2 separate regions of the Homo sapiens genome follow, and region 2 is linked to region 1. The links are contacts of gene promoters, found by promoter capture Hi-C in blood cells and fetal thymus (Javierre and others, 2016). All regions are on one chromosome and are shown on one strand. The core of a region is centred on a gene start or on the middle of the fragment in contact, and the rest is flanking DNA. Distances in the headings are between cores, read along the strand shown. Region 1 holds the start of KCNK7 (potassium two pore domain channel subfamily K member 7). Region 2 overlaps TIGD3 (tigger transposable element derived 3).

Region 1 (6,594 bases), core at 1,012-3,511:
CCAACACTGTACCCAGCTGGTTGGGAGGACCAGAGCCTGTCTCAGGGAATTGCCTGCTGGGGTGATGCAGGGAGGAGGGGAGGTGCAGGGAAGAGGGGCCGGCCTCAGCTGTCACCAGCACTTTTGACCAAGTCCTGCTACTGCGGCCCCTGCCCTAGGGCTTAGAGCATGGACCTCCTGCCCTGGGGGTCATCTGGGGCCAGGGCTCTCTGGATGCCTTCCTGCTGCCCCAGCCAGGGTTGGAGTCTTAGCCTCGGGATCCAGTGAAGCCAGAAGCCAAATAAACTCAAAAGCTGTCTCCCCACATGTAGCCTGTCACCTTTCTTGGAGGTAACCAGGTGACCCAACCTATCATACAACCCTGGTGTCCTGATGCCCCAACAATAGGCAGTTGGATGCCTTGTACTGCATGCCTCTCCTGGGACCAAATCCACCAGCCTTGGTCAGTCATTCAAGGCTCTTCTCGGCCAGGTGCAGTGGCTCACTCCTGTCATCACAGCAGTTTGGGAGGCCGAGGCCGGCGGATCACATGAGGTCAGGAGTTCAACCTGGCCACATGGTGAAACCCCATCTCTACTAAAAATACAAAAATTAGCCAGGTGTGGTGGTGCATGCCTGTAGTCCCAGCTACTCTGGAGGCTGAGGCAGGAGAATTGCTTGAACCTGGAAGGTGGAGGTTGCAGTGAGCCAAAATCACGCCACTGCACTCCAGCCTGGGCAACAGAGCAAGACTCCGTCTCAAAAAAAAAAAAAACAAAAAACCATAGGCCGGGCATGGTGGCTCACGCCTGTAATCCCAGCACTTTGGGAGGCCGAGACGGACAGATCACAAGGTCAGGATTTTGAGACCAGCCTGGCCAATATGGTGAAACCCCGTCTCTACTGAAAAAAATATATATATATACAAAAATTAACCAGGCGTGGTGGCAGGTGCCTGTAGCCCCAGCTACTTGGGAGGCTGAGGCAGGAGAATAGCTTGAACCCGGGCGGCGAAGGTTGAGTGAGCCGAGATTGCACCACTGCACTCCAGCCTGGGCGACAGAGCGAGACTCCATCTCAAAAAAAAGAGTAGTAAGTTCCACCCACCTCCCAGTATGGTGACTTGCCATGGCATCTGGCACCCCTGACAGTTCTCTTCACACTGCCATGGGGGCTCTGGCACTCCCACACCATACCCTAGGGCAGGGTCCCTCCCTCGGCCTCTGTCCATTCTCTTCACACTGCCATGGGGGCTCTGGCACTCCCACACCATACCCTAGGGCTGGGTCCCTTCCTTGGCCTCTGTCCTCAGCCCCTCTGACGTTAGAGGAGTTGGAACCCAGGCTCCCCCTTCCCCTCTCCCAGGTGCCCCATGGCAGCCCAGACTCTGTGTCTGCAGTTCAGGGGCAGGGAGTCAGGAGGGCAGGCACAAAGCGTTCTCAGGAAGAACTGGCAATCGGGCGCAAGGGTATCATCTGCCCGGGTGCTCTGGGCACCCTGGAGTCCTCTCCCCACCTCCCACCCCCACCTGATCCTTCCCAGCTGCCACCATTCCTCTCCCACCACACCACCCAGGCCAAAATCACTCCATCCATGACGCCTACAGTAGCCCAGCGTAGGTCTCCCTGGACCACATTTATCCTCAAGGGCCTGTGTCCTTATCCCCCCTTCACCCCCAACTCTCCCCTGCCACAGCCAGCCCTCTGTTCCTCTCACACCCCAAGCTCATTCCTACCTTCACTGGCCTCTTACTCCCCAGCTGAAATATCACCTCCTTAGCAGAGCTTTCCCAGTGAGATAACCCCCCCGCTCCCCGCAGAGCTCTCCCATCACCCAGGGTGTTTCCTTCATGGAACTCATGACAATGTGAGGTTGCCATGTTTCTTTGCTAAGAGGTTTCTTGTGTAAACACCAGGAAGGAAAGGACCTGTGCCTGTCCTCTTCCCTAAGCACTTGAATGAATGAATGAATGAATGAATGTGGTATGGGTGCCTGAGTGAGCAGGACCTTGAATAAGTGTGAGGTCCTCTCTAGGCTTCAGCTTCCTCCGCCTCCTCCCCTCACCGCAGCCGCCTTCCTCCACCCATCCCCACCATCCCAGCTGCTGTGAAATGGGCAAATGTCTTGCCTCCAGGACCTGGGAAGGGTGATGCAGCTCACCTCCCTCCTGTTCACACCCCAGCCACCCCAGCCATCCCAGCCGGGTCCCAGCCACCCACACAGCACCTCCTCCTGGCCCCGCCCTGCCCAGCCCCTCCCAGGTGCCTGAGGTGGAGCCGCCAGTTCCCACAGCACCCCAGCGGCCTGCCATGGGGGGTCTAAGGCCCTGGTCCCGATACGGGCTCCTGGTTGTGGCCCACTTGCTGGCCCTGGGGCTTGGGGCTGTGGTGTTCCAGGCCCTGGAGGGGCCTCCTGCATGCAGGCTTCAGGCTGAGCTCAGGGCAGAGCTGGCAGCCTTCCAGGCAGAGCATAGGGCCTGCCTGCCACCCGGAGCTCTGGAAGAGCTGCTGGGCACTGCCCTGGCCACCCAGGCCCATGGGGTCTCCACCCTGGGCAACAGCTCAGAGGGCAGGACCTGGGACCTTCCCTCAGCCCTGCTCTTCGCTGCCAGCATCCTCACCACCACAGGTAAGAGAGCCAGGCAGCCAAGTCGGGGGGTGCGGCTCCAAGAGGCCATGGCTCCCTGGGGGCTTTGGGGTTCATGCAGCCCTTCCTTCAGCCCCAAAGAGCCAGATGGAGCCCAGGCCCTGTGAGGCCTGACATCACAGCTGGGGCTCCCCACCAACACACCCCAACTGGTGCCTCCACTTCAACTGCCAGGAAGGGTGTGGCCTCCCCAGTCCCACCCCAGGCACCCTTTGAGACCCAGGAGAGCTGCCCAGATGCCACAGCCTGTGGCCAGATAGGGGATACAATACAGTGGGATGGATTCTTGGATGGAAGCAAATAGAATGAACCTGGGAAGGACAGATCAGGACCATGGCCTCGGGTGGGGGAGTGAGGGAAGATAGGGGAGGAAGTCGGCATGAGATGCTTGTGGATCAGGAGGGCACAGACAGGGATGAGGGAGTCCTGCAGAGAAATCGCGTGGGCACAGGCCCAGGGAAAAGCAGCAATGAGACCCACAGCCCTGGGTTTTCGTATTTTTTGCCCCACAAAGTGTCTCAGTATTTTTTGAATTGGAATTTGTATTTCCAACTTTTTTTTTTTTTGAAACGGTGTCTGACCCTGTCACCCAGGCTGGGGTGCGGTGGTGCGATCTTGGCTCACTGCAACCTCCACCTCCCGGGTTCTAGCAATTCTCCTGCCTCAGCCTCCTGAGTAGCTGGGACTACAGGCATGCACCACCATGCCCGGCTAATTTTTGTGTTTTTAGTAGAGACGGGGTTTTGCCATGTTGGCCAGGCTGTTCTCAAACTCCTGACCTCAAGTGATCCACCTGCCTCAGCCTCCCAAAGTGTTGGGATTACAGGTGTGAGCCACTGTGCCCAGCTCATATTTCCAACTTCTTTTGGAAAATCAGGAAACCCACTCACACTGAGCCAGAATCCCTGCAAGGCAACATCCTGACTGGAGCAGAATGGGGCCTGCCCTTTGGATACAGCTCACACTTTCCAGTGTACCCCTGTCCCCACCACTCCTGTTTGTCTCCCATCTGGCTCCGGTAGGCATGTGCGTTTGCAGCTCTGTATTAGCTGATCCTGTTCTCCCAGCACACCCCGCACTCCCACCCCTCCCCGCCTGGCACATGCCCTCTCTCGCCCATGCTGCCTCTTTGCAGCCCTTCATGATTTGCCTGCCCGACTCCCCCACCAGAAGGGGCAGGGCCTGGGCTGATTCAGATCCCAGTACAAAGCCTGGCACACAGGACATGACACACATTTGGGGAAAGAGTGGATGATATTCCACCAGCTGTGGAATCGGGAGTATCTGTTAAGGGCAGCGCAGTTCTCAGAATTGTCCCAGCTACAAAAGGCCTGAGGAACTGTCTTCTTTCATCCTTTCATTTTCCAAAAAAGAAAAGAATGGCCTAGAGAGGGTAAGGGATCCCCTGACGAAGAGGAGCAGAGCCAGCTAGAACCTGGGCCTGGCCAGTTCAAGGCCACCAGAGGGCAGCCTTCTGCGGAAGGCAGTATTGGGGTAGGCAGGGACCCCAGCAGACATGGCACTCAGAGCTCTCACTGTCCACTGACTCTCTCTTCTCCAGGTTATGGCCACATGGCCCCACTATCGCCAGGCGGAAAGGCCTTCTGCATGGTCTATGCAGCCCTGGGGCTGCCAGCCTCCTTAGCTCTCGTGGCCACCCTGCGCCATTGCCTGCTGCCTGTGCTCAGCCGCCCACGTGCCTGGGTAGCGGTCCACTGGCAGCTGTCACCGGCCAGGGCTGCGCTGCTGCAGGCAGTTGCACTGGGACTGCTGGTGGCCAGCAGCTTTGTGCTGCTGCCAGCGCTGGTGCTGTGGGGCCTTCAGGGCGACTGCAGCCTGCTGGGGGCCGTCTACTTCTGCTTCAGCTCGCTCAGCACCATTGGCCTGGAGGACTTGCTGCCCGGCCGCGGCCGCAGCCTGCACCCCGTGATTTACCACCTGGGCCAGCTCGCACTTCTTGGTAAGTCCAGCCACCTAACAGCGTGTGGGGGAAGGGGGAAGAGGAGCCTGGACTAGGACTCCCATAAATCACTGGGGGGCTGGGCCTTGCAGGTGGAGGGACCTCACTCCAGGGCACGGCGTGGGAGGGGTAGTCGAAGAGCTCTGGTGGCAGCGTTGAGAAGGGGGTGAGTGGTGCCAGTTGCCAGGGCAAGTCACTGCGCTGGGAGGTGGGCGGGGAGCATCACCAGAACCCAGGCGCTGCCCCAGCACCTTCTCCTCCCCAGGTTACTTGCTTCTAGGACTCTTGGCCATGCTGCTGGCAGTGGAGACCTTCTCTGAGCTGCCGCAGGTCCGTGCCATGGGGAAGTTCTTCAGACCCAGTGGTCCTGTGACTGCTGAGGACCAAGGTGGCATCCTAGGGCAGGATGAACTGGCTCTGAGCACCCTGCCGCCCGCGGCCCCAGCTTCAGGACAAGCCCCTGCTTGCTGAAGCGTCAGGTGACCGAGTTCAGCTCCGTAAGGTGGCGGCACCTGAGGAGGAAGCAGCCAGGAGTGGCTGGGGAAGAATCTGGAGATGGAGCCGCGGTGAGGGTGGGCGGGAGGCCTCAGAGGATACTGTTAATCATAAAATGAGCAACGACTTCGGCTATTTTCAACTATTTCGAATGGGACTTCCCTGAGCCACCGGCCACCATCCCGGGAAGGCCGAGGTCCAGCCTCCGCTGGCCCTGGGAACCTCGAAACCGCACCTTCCGGCTTAGGATGGCAGAGCCGCCCGCCTCAGCCTCGGCGCACTCCCCTCCGCCTATTGAGAGCCCAGGTGGAGCGGAGAAAAGGCCGGCGCTGGGGTAGTCTCGTCCAACTTTATTGCTCTGGAGAACAGGAGGGCAAGCCAGCGCGGGGCGGTAGTGCCCAGGCATCCCTCTCCCCGAGGCCGCCGGCCCGGCCGTGCCGTCGGGGAGGACCCCGCACCCGCCGCGAGCGCGCACACACCCTCGGTGACAAATAAATACGGCGGCCGCCCCGCCCGTGGGGTCGGGGATCCGCCCTGCCCTGTACGGGGAAGGGCGCCGGCGGCCCCTAGCGGACACGCGCGCGGCCTCCGGGACGGCCGGGTCGTCCGCAGCGCAGGCCCGGGGCGGCGGCGGACGCCGGGGACGCGAGAAGTTATGGGCCACCCGGGCCGGCGGCCTCAGCTCAGCACGCAGCGCTCCCGCCGGCTCAACTGCCGGCTCAGCTTGCGGCGCCGCTGTTCCAGGCCGCGCTCCAGGCGCTCGTCCTCCTCCAGGGCGCTGGGGAGAACGGGTTCGAGTCAGCGCTCCGTTGGGCGGGGTCCACACGCAGCCCTCTGCGGGAGCAAGTCCCGGACCCTCCCAACTCCCAGCGCCGCCCAGCGCCACTCACATCCGCTCCTTGTGGTCCAGGTCCCGGACTAGCTCATCGCGCTGGTTCACCAGCGACACCAGCTCCTCCAGTAGGAGCTGCTCTCGGTGCTGCTGAGCGGACGTTTTCTGCCAGTCTGAGGGTCGAAGCGGCTAAGCGTCAGGAGGCGCGGGCCCAGGGCTGTGCCGCCTCCACCCTGGCTCTGTCTTGCCTCCCGGCCCCTGAGCCCATGTCCCACCTTCGATGGCCAGCATGGCCCGCAGCTCGCGGCTCAGCAGCTCGAACCTTCGCTCCAAGTCCTGCTCCTCCATGCTGGAAGGTGGCGGGGGGTGGGTGGCGGGGGGGTGGCAGTTCAGGAAAAGGGGCGTAGGGAGAGAGTGCCCAGGGCTCTGGCCACTCCCTGACCCCATCCCACCTCCCCAGCAGTTCCCGAGGGCAGGGCTGACCGCAGAGCTATCCTCTAGTCTCCAGACCACATTATCGCTTTTCTTCTGTTTTCTCCAATTGCTGGGTGTTTGTGTTGCTCCTCCCACACACCCCCCAGAAGGACCCCCGAAGGATTATTTGGATGAACAGTACTCATAAACAGGAAGCACTGGCTACAGTTATTCTGAAAAATCCCAAACGCAAAAGGGAGGCAAAGCT
Region 2 (6,292 bases), core at 3,676-6,175, 240 kb after region 1:
AGTGGCGGGCACTTGTAATCCCAGCTACTCAGGAGGCTGAGGCAGGAGAATCGCTTGAACCCAGGAGGCAGAAGTTGCAGTGAACTGAGATTGCGCCGCTACACTCCAGCCCTGGAGACAGAGTGAGACTTCGTCTCAAACAAAAAACAAAACAAAAAAACATATCTTGTTCCTCCTTTATCTGAACCACACAGCCCCAACCCACCCTGCAAAAAAAAAAAAAAAAAAAAAAAAAAAAGGCAAACCAACTTCCTATTTTGCTTAGAATGCAACCTAAACACTCCCTGGTGAAAGGCCCCTGTCCACCTCTCTGACCTCCTCCCCTCCTTGGCCTCCCTCACTTGCGGCCACAGGCACTGCTTTCTGTTTCTTAACCCTGTGAAGCTGTTTCTAACCACCTGGATTGGTACCCACAGTTCCCTTTGCAGAGAAATTCACAACGCAGCTCACAGGTCATTTTCCTGACTACGCACCCTGTCACTCTCTCTGACATCATTATTTTATTTTCATCTTGACACCTTTCGCTGTCTGAAATGACTGTGCTCATGGGTTTAATGTCTGCTCTTGCTCTCCCTCTTCTAAAAAGTAAGGGCCTTGGCTGGGCATGGTGGCTCACGCCTGTAATCCCAGCACTTTGGAAGGCCGACTCAGGCTGATCGCCTGAGGTTGGGAGTTCGAGACCAGCCTGATCAACATTGGAGAAACCCTGTCTCTACTGAAAATATAAAACTAGCCAGGCGTGGTGGCGCACGCCTGCAATCCCAGCTACTCAGGAGGCTGAGGCAGGAAAATCACTTGAACCCGGGAGGCGGAGGTTGTGGTGAGCTGAGATGGCGCCACTGCACTCCAGCCTGGGCAACGAGAGCAAAACTCTGTCTGAAAAAACACAGCAAAACAAAACAAGACAAAAAACAAACAACAACAAAAAAAGTAAGGGCCCTGACAGACGGGATCCTCTCTGTCTTGTTCACCATTGACTTTAAGGTCCCAGAACAGGGCCTGAGCCACAAGCTAAGCATTCGGGAATACTGCTTGCACGAGCAGATGAAGTTACCTGCAATTGGGAAATGTCTGCCATATGATAGCGATTCAAGGAAGGAAGAGATTAATTATGGCTCTTTTTAAAAAGCTCCGGGAAGAGGCCAGCTGTACAGCATTGTGTTATATTCTGCTACTTTGACAGGAGTGGGACACCTGAGGACAGAGAGCTAATCTATCTGCTCTCTGTTGCTTTGGTAAGACCTGTAGAGATTGTGTATTTTTTTATTTTTTTAAATGGAGTTTTGCTCTTGTTGCCTAGGCTGGAGTGCAATGGCGTGATCTCGACTCACCACAACCACCACCTCTCGGGTTCAAGTGATTCTCCTGCCTCAGCCTCCTGAGTAGCTGGGATTATAGGCATGCGCCACCACGCCCGGCTAATTTTGTATTTTCAGTAGAGACGGGGTTTTCTCCATGTTGGTCAGGCTGGTCTCGAACTCCTGACCTCAGGTGATCTGCCCGCCTCGGCCTCCCAAAGTGCTGGGATTACAGGTGTGAGCCACCACGCCCAGCCTGTAATTTTGATTTCAACATTTAGAAAGAGATATAGGGCCAGGCGCAGTGGCTCACGCCTGTAATCCCAGCACTTGGGAGGCCGAGGTGGGTGGATCACCTGAGGTCAGGAGTTTGAGACCAGCCTGACCAACATGGAGAAACGCCATCTCTACTAAAAATACAAAATTAGCTGGGCGTGGTGGCGCGTGCCTGTAATCCCAGCTACTCTGGAGGCTGAGGCAGGAGAATCACTGGAATTTGGGGGCAGAGGTTGCAGTGAGCCAAGATCGCGCCACTGCACTCCAGCCTGGGCAACAAGAGCAAAACTCCGTCTCAAAAAATAAATAAATAAAATAAAATAAAAAGAGATATGGGCTGGGCGCAGTAGCTAACGCTTGTAATTCCCAGCACTTTGGAAGGCCAAGGTGGGCGGATCACCTGAGGTCAGGAGTTTGAGATCAGTCTGACCAACATGGAGAAACCCTGTCTCCACTAAAAATACAAAATTAGCCCGGCGTGGTGGCGGGTGCCTGTAATTCCAGCTACTCGGGAGGCTGAGGCAGGAGAATTGCTTGAACCCAGGAGGTAGAGGTTGTGATGAGCCAAGATCGTGCCATTGCACTCCAGCCTAGGCAACAAAAGCAAAACTCCATTTCAAAACAAACAAACAATAAATAGGCCGGGCGCAGTGGCTCACGCCTGGGTAATCCCAGCACTTTGGTAGGCCGAGGCAGGCGGGTCACCTGAGGTCAGAAGTTTGAGACCAACCTGACCAACATGGTGAAACCCTGTCTCTACTAAAAATACAAAAATTAGCTGGGCATGGTGGCAGACACCTGTAATCCCAGCTACTCAGGAGGCTAAGGCAGGAGAATCACTTGAACCCGAGAGGCGGAGGTTGCAGTGAGCCAAGATCGTGCCACTGCACTCCAGCCTAGGTGACAGAAGGAGACTCCATCTCAAAAATAATAAAATAAAATAAAATAATAAAATAAAATAAAATGAGATACATCAGAACTGGAAAGGTTTCAGAAAAGAACAATTTATATGAATTCAGGGTAGAAAAAATAGACTTCTGTGAGGAAAGGCTAAATGATTTGGGATCTCAGCCTAGAAAATGATAGGCCCGCAGGTGGCTTCATAAGTGTTTGAAAGGGAGTTGTTAGTTCGAGCTGCCAGGTGTGGAGTTGGTCAATTAGGACAACGAAGCAAGCTGAAAGTAACACAAAAGCTTCTTTTCATTCACTAAAACCTACAAGCAAGGGGCAAAAACAGGCCCCAGCTCCCCAGCGTTCCATTTTACAGAGCAGCACGGGACAAGGGTCAGACAGGAACAGTCTCATCGTCAAGGAGTTTCAGAATAAAAAGAATAAAAGCTCCTGCCTTTTTACAGACCTGACCTGAAGTGGGCTGTAGGGAGGCAGGGGAGAAGGGCTGAAATGAGAAGTACTGAGTCAAAGCGGAGAAAGGATAGAATGAGAGGTACTGCGTCAAAGCGGAGAAAGGATGGAATGAGAGGTATTGAGTCGAAGCGGAGAAAGGATCTCAGTCATTGCTCCCAGTAAGGAGGTCTTGGTAAAGGCTGTTGGAAACTGCCTCAGCCCAGGTCTCCAAATGGAGGTGCCCAGCTAGGAATGCAGGTGAGCTTAGGAACAGGGCAGTCTGGGGGCCTGGAGTCCTTGACTGCAACTCTCTCCGGAAACCTGCAATGCACAGGCGATGCACCAAGCTGGGGTGAGAGAGCAGCTTCCCTCCATGAGGACTGCCAGGCAAAAGTCTTGTGACTGCCAATGGTGAAGCCTGAAAGGTCACCCTTAGGATTTTGGCCTGGAGCCCGTATTTTTATTTTATTTATTCCTTTTTCAAGAGGGAGTCTCGCTCTGTCGCCCAGGCTGGAGTGCAGTGGCGCTATCTTGGCTCAGTGCAACCTCCACCTCCCAGTTCAAGCGATTCTCCTGCCTTAGCCTCCTGAGTAGCTGGGACTACAGGCGCTCGCCACCACACCTGGCTAGTTTTTGTATTTTTGATAGAGACGGGGTTTCACTATGTTGGCCAGGCTGGTCTTGAACTCCTGACCTCAGGTGATCCACCCGCCTCGGCCTCTCAAAATGCTGGGATTACAGGCGTGAGCCACCGTGCCCAGACAGTATTTTTATTTTATTTTTTTATTTTTGAGACGGAGTCTCATTCTGTCACCCAGGCTGGAGTGCAGTGGTGCGATCTCCGCTCACTGCAACCTCCGCCTCGTGGGTTCAAGCGATTCTACTGCCTCAGTCTTCCAAGTAGCTGGGATTACAGGTGTGTGCCACCACGCCTGGTTAATTTTTGTATTTTTAGTAGAGACAGAGTTTCATCATGTTGGCCAGGCTGCTCTTGAACTCCTGACCTAAAGTGATCCACCAGCCTCGGCCTCCCAAAGTGCTGGGATTACAGGCATGAGCCACTGTGCCCGGCCTGCAGCTTGTATTTTTACCAGCTAGAGTCTATCTGCGTCCAAAGCCCATATCCTTTCCAGGTAAAACCATTTTCTTTTCTTTTCTTTTTTTTTTTTTTTTGAGTGAGTTTCACTCTTGTTGCCCAAGCTGGAGTGCAGTGGCACCATCCTGGCTCACTGCAACCTCCACCTCCCGGGTTCAAGCGATTCTCCTGCCTCAGCCTCCTGAGAAGCTGGAATTACAGGCATGTGCCACCACGCCCGGCTAGTTTTTATATTTTTAGTAGAAATGGGGTTTCACCATGTTGGCCAGGCAGGTCTTATAAACTCTTGACCTCAGGTCATCCACCCACCTCGGCCTCCCAAAGTGCTGGGATTACAGGCGTGAGCCACCGCGCCCTGCTGGTAAACCATTTTCTTTACATCCTACTCCCAGGATCTGGCTCACGCTTCACCTTCTCTCACCTGGATCAGTCAGAGGCTCTCTGCCTCTAGGTTTCACATCTTTGACACACCCTACACAGACTCCGTTATTCTAGAACCCCAAGAATGACTTGTTCCTGCCTACCTAAAACCCTCTGATGGTGTCCTACCCCTAAGCCTGGTTGGCTAAAGGCCCTTCCTACTCTCCAGGTCTCTCCTTGTACTCTGCCCCTACCTCCGCAAGTATGCTATGCTCTGGCAGAACTGCCTGCCCCCGCCCCCAGCACACTGTGCTCCTTCACTCCAATCAGACTCTGCACACGCTGTCCCTTGGCCTGGGACGCCCTTCAAACTGCAGCTCAAAGCTCACCTCCCCCTGGAGTCTCCCTAGCTCTATGGGGCCAGGCACTTTGCACAGCCGTTATCACAGCCTTAATCACACTCCACTGTCATTGGCTGCAAGGTTCTGTCCAGAAGAGACATCATCTTTGCAACCTTGTTCACATAGGAGGTCTTGCTGAAGTGATGTTGTGAAATAAGCAAATGAAAAAAAAAAAAGAAAGAATGAATGACTATTCCATTCCAATTCCGGCTCCTTTCTGTTTCCCTGACATGTCCGTAGCCTGCCCAACCCCAAACACACACAATCTGAGAGCGAAACTATTGGAGCTGCAGCTTATCTGGGGCAGTAGCTGGGATCTGTCTGTCCTGGAGCTTCCCTCTCAGGAGGGTAGCCCACAAGCAGTGCCCACACCCTGAGAGTCCTTGCTGCTGAATATCTGGAAAAGGAGGATCCCTACTGGTCATGGACAGACAGCTGCACCGCAGTGACCATCAGCAATTAATTTTCCAAATCTGAATGGAAAATGTTTACCCTTCTCCCATGAAAATAACACCCTGGCCTCTTTTCTGATTAAAAACTTTATTTTCAGAAGCAGAACTGTTTTTAACACAAAGTTCAAGGAAGCAGTCTGTCCAAAAAGCCCAAATTCCACCTTTCTAAGTGGCTGCCTCTAGACTAACTCCCTTTCAAAGGCTCTAGAACTTTCAAGCAGGGTCTAGAAACTAAGCATCCTGGATTCCTACCCCCGAAGCCCCATCTTTAGAGCTCTCTTCCTGGGGTTTGGACGACTGCCACTCCAAGCTCAGACTTGGTGTCCCAACTTCTCTCCCTTCTACACCTTTACGACAGTTCTATTTCCACAGGAAAGAGACAGCCCGATCTGCCTTCTGAAGAGGCCGTTTCCATGGGAAACAAGAGAGGAAGGGGCTCTGGCAAGCAGTGAAGGCGCCTTCATAGGCAGCAAAGCCGCTCCACCTCCTCCTCACAGTCGTAGAATTTTTCGAATAGCTCAGGAGAAGTGCTGTTGCATTCAAACCACCTCCTCAAGGTGCCCAGGGCCCGGAGGGCATCAGCTTTGGTGGGCAGGGGCTCAAAGGCACCCTCTCTGTCCCCCTTCTCGTCTTCAGTGCCTATCTCCTCCTTACATACTCCAGACCTTGGCTCCTCACCCTCCAGGTCCACAAAGCGGGAAAACTCCTCCAGGCTCAGCCCGCCGGGGACTGGTGGCATCTCAGAGGTTTTGTGCGAGGACGGGGGCGTTTTGCCGGGAGCCAGCCCTTCTTGAATGAAGCTGCTGAAAATGAGCTGAGGAGGCACCTTGGCCCAGGCGGCAGACGCCACGTGCAGGGCGTCCAGCACGGTGATGCCTGCCCCGGCCTCGGCCAGCGAGGTGCCATCCCTCTCGCTTTGGATGGCAGCCAGTTTGCCCAACAGCCGGTGTCGGTAATGGGCCTTAAAGGCCCGGACCACTGAGCTGGGCAGGGGAGGCGTGGTGCTAGAGGCGGCCAGAGGCAAGAGCTTCACGTGGTAGAGCCCAGGCAGGCCTGCCAGCTCCT

What was found. Contacts are between HindIII fragments. The CHiCAGO score rates a contact against its expected background, and 5 or more counts as called.
Region 2: a fragment that was not itself captured here is called in contact with the fragment with the promoter of KCNK7 in region 1 in 9 of 17 cell types (neutrophils, activated CD4 T cells, total CD8 T cells and 6 more); the score reaches 8.4 in neutrophils.

The regions. Positions count from the first base shown.
Region 1 is chr11:65,591,467-65,598,060 of GRCh38, reverse strand. It overlaps KCNK7 (potassium two pore domain channel subfamily K member 7), which reads left to right and starts at 2,261. Exons shown (of 3, transcript NM_033347.2): 1 at 2,261-2,607; 2 at 4,187-4,585; 3 at 4,851-5,225. The coding sequence starts at 2,289. The coding sequence ends at 5,056. It overlaps EHBP1L1 (EH domain binding protein 1 like 1), which reads right to left. Exons shown (of 19, transcript NM_001099409.3): 17 at 6,188-6,261; 18 at 5,971-6,085; 19 at 5,411-5,858. The coding sequence ends at 5,759. MAP3K11 (mitogen-activated protein kinase kinase kinase 11) reads left to right here. Exons shown (of 10, transcript NM_002419.4): 10 at 1-304. The HindIII fragment of the contact is 15,508 bases long and covers 1-6,594 here.
Region 2 is chr11:65,356,620-65,362,911 of GRCh38, reverse strand. It overlaps TIGD3 (tigger transposable element derived 3), which reads right to left. Exons shown (of 2, transcript NM_145719.3): 2 at 5,299-6,292. The coding sequence ends at 5,688. Among named protein-coding and RNA genes, the nearest start is that of TIGD3, 5.0 kb to the right of the region's middle. The HindIII fragment of the contact is 4,312 bases long and covers 2,770-6,292 here.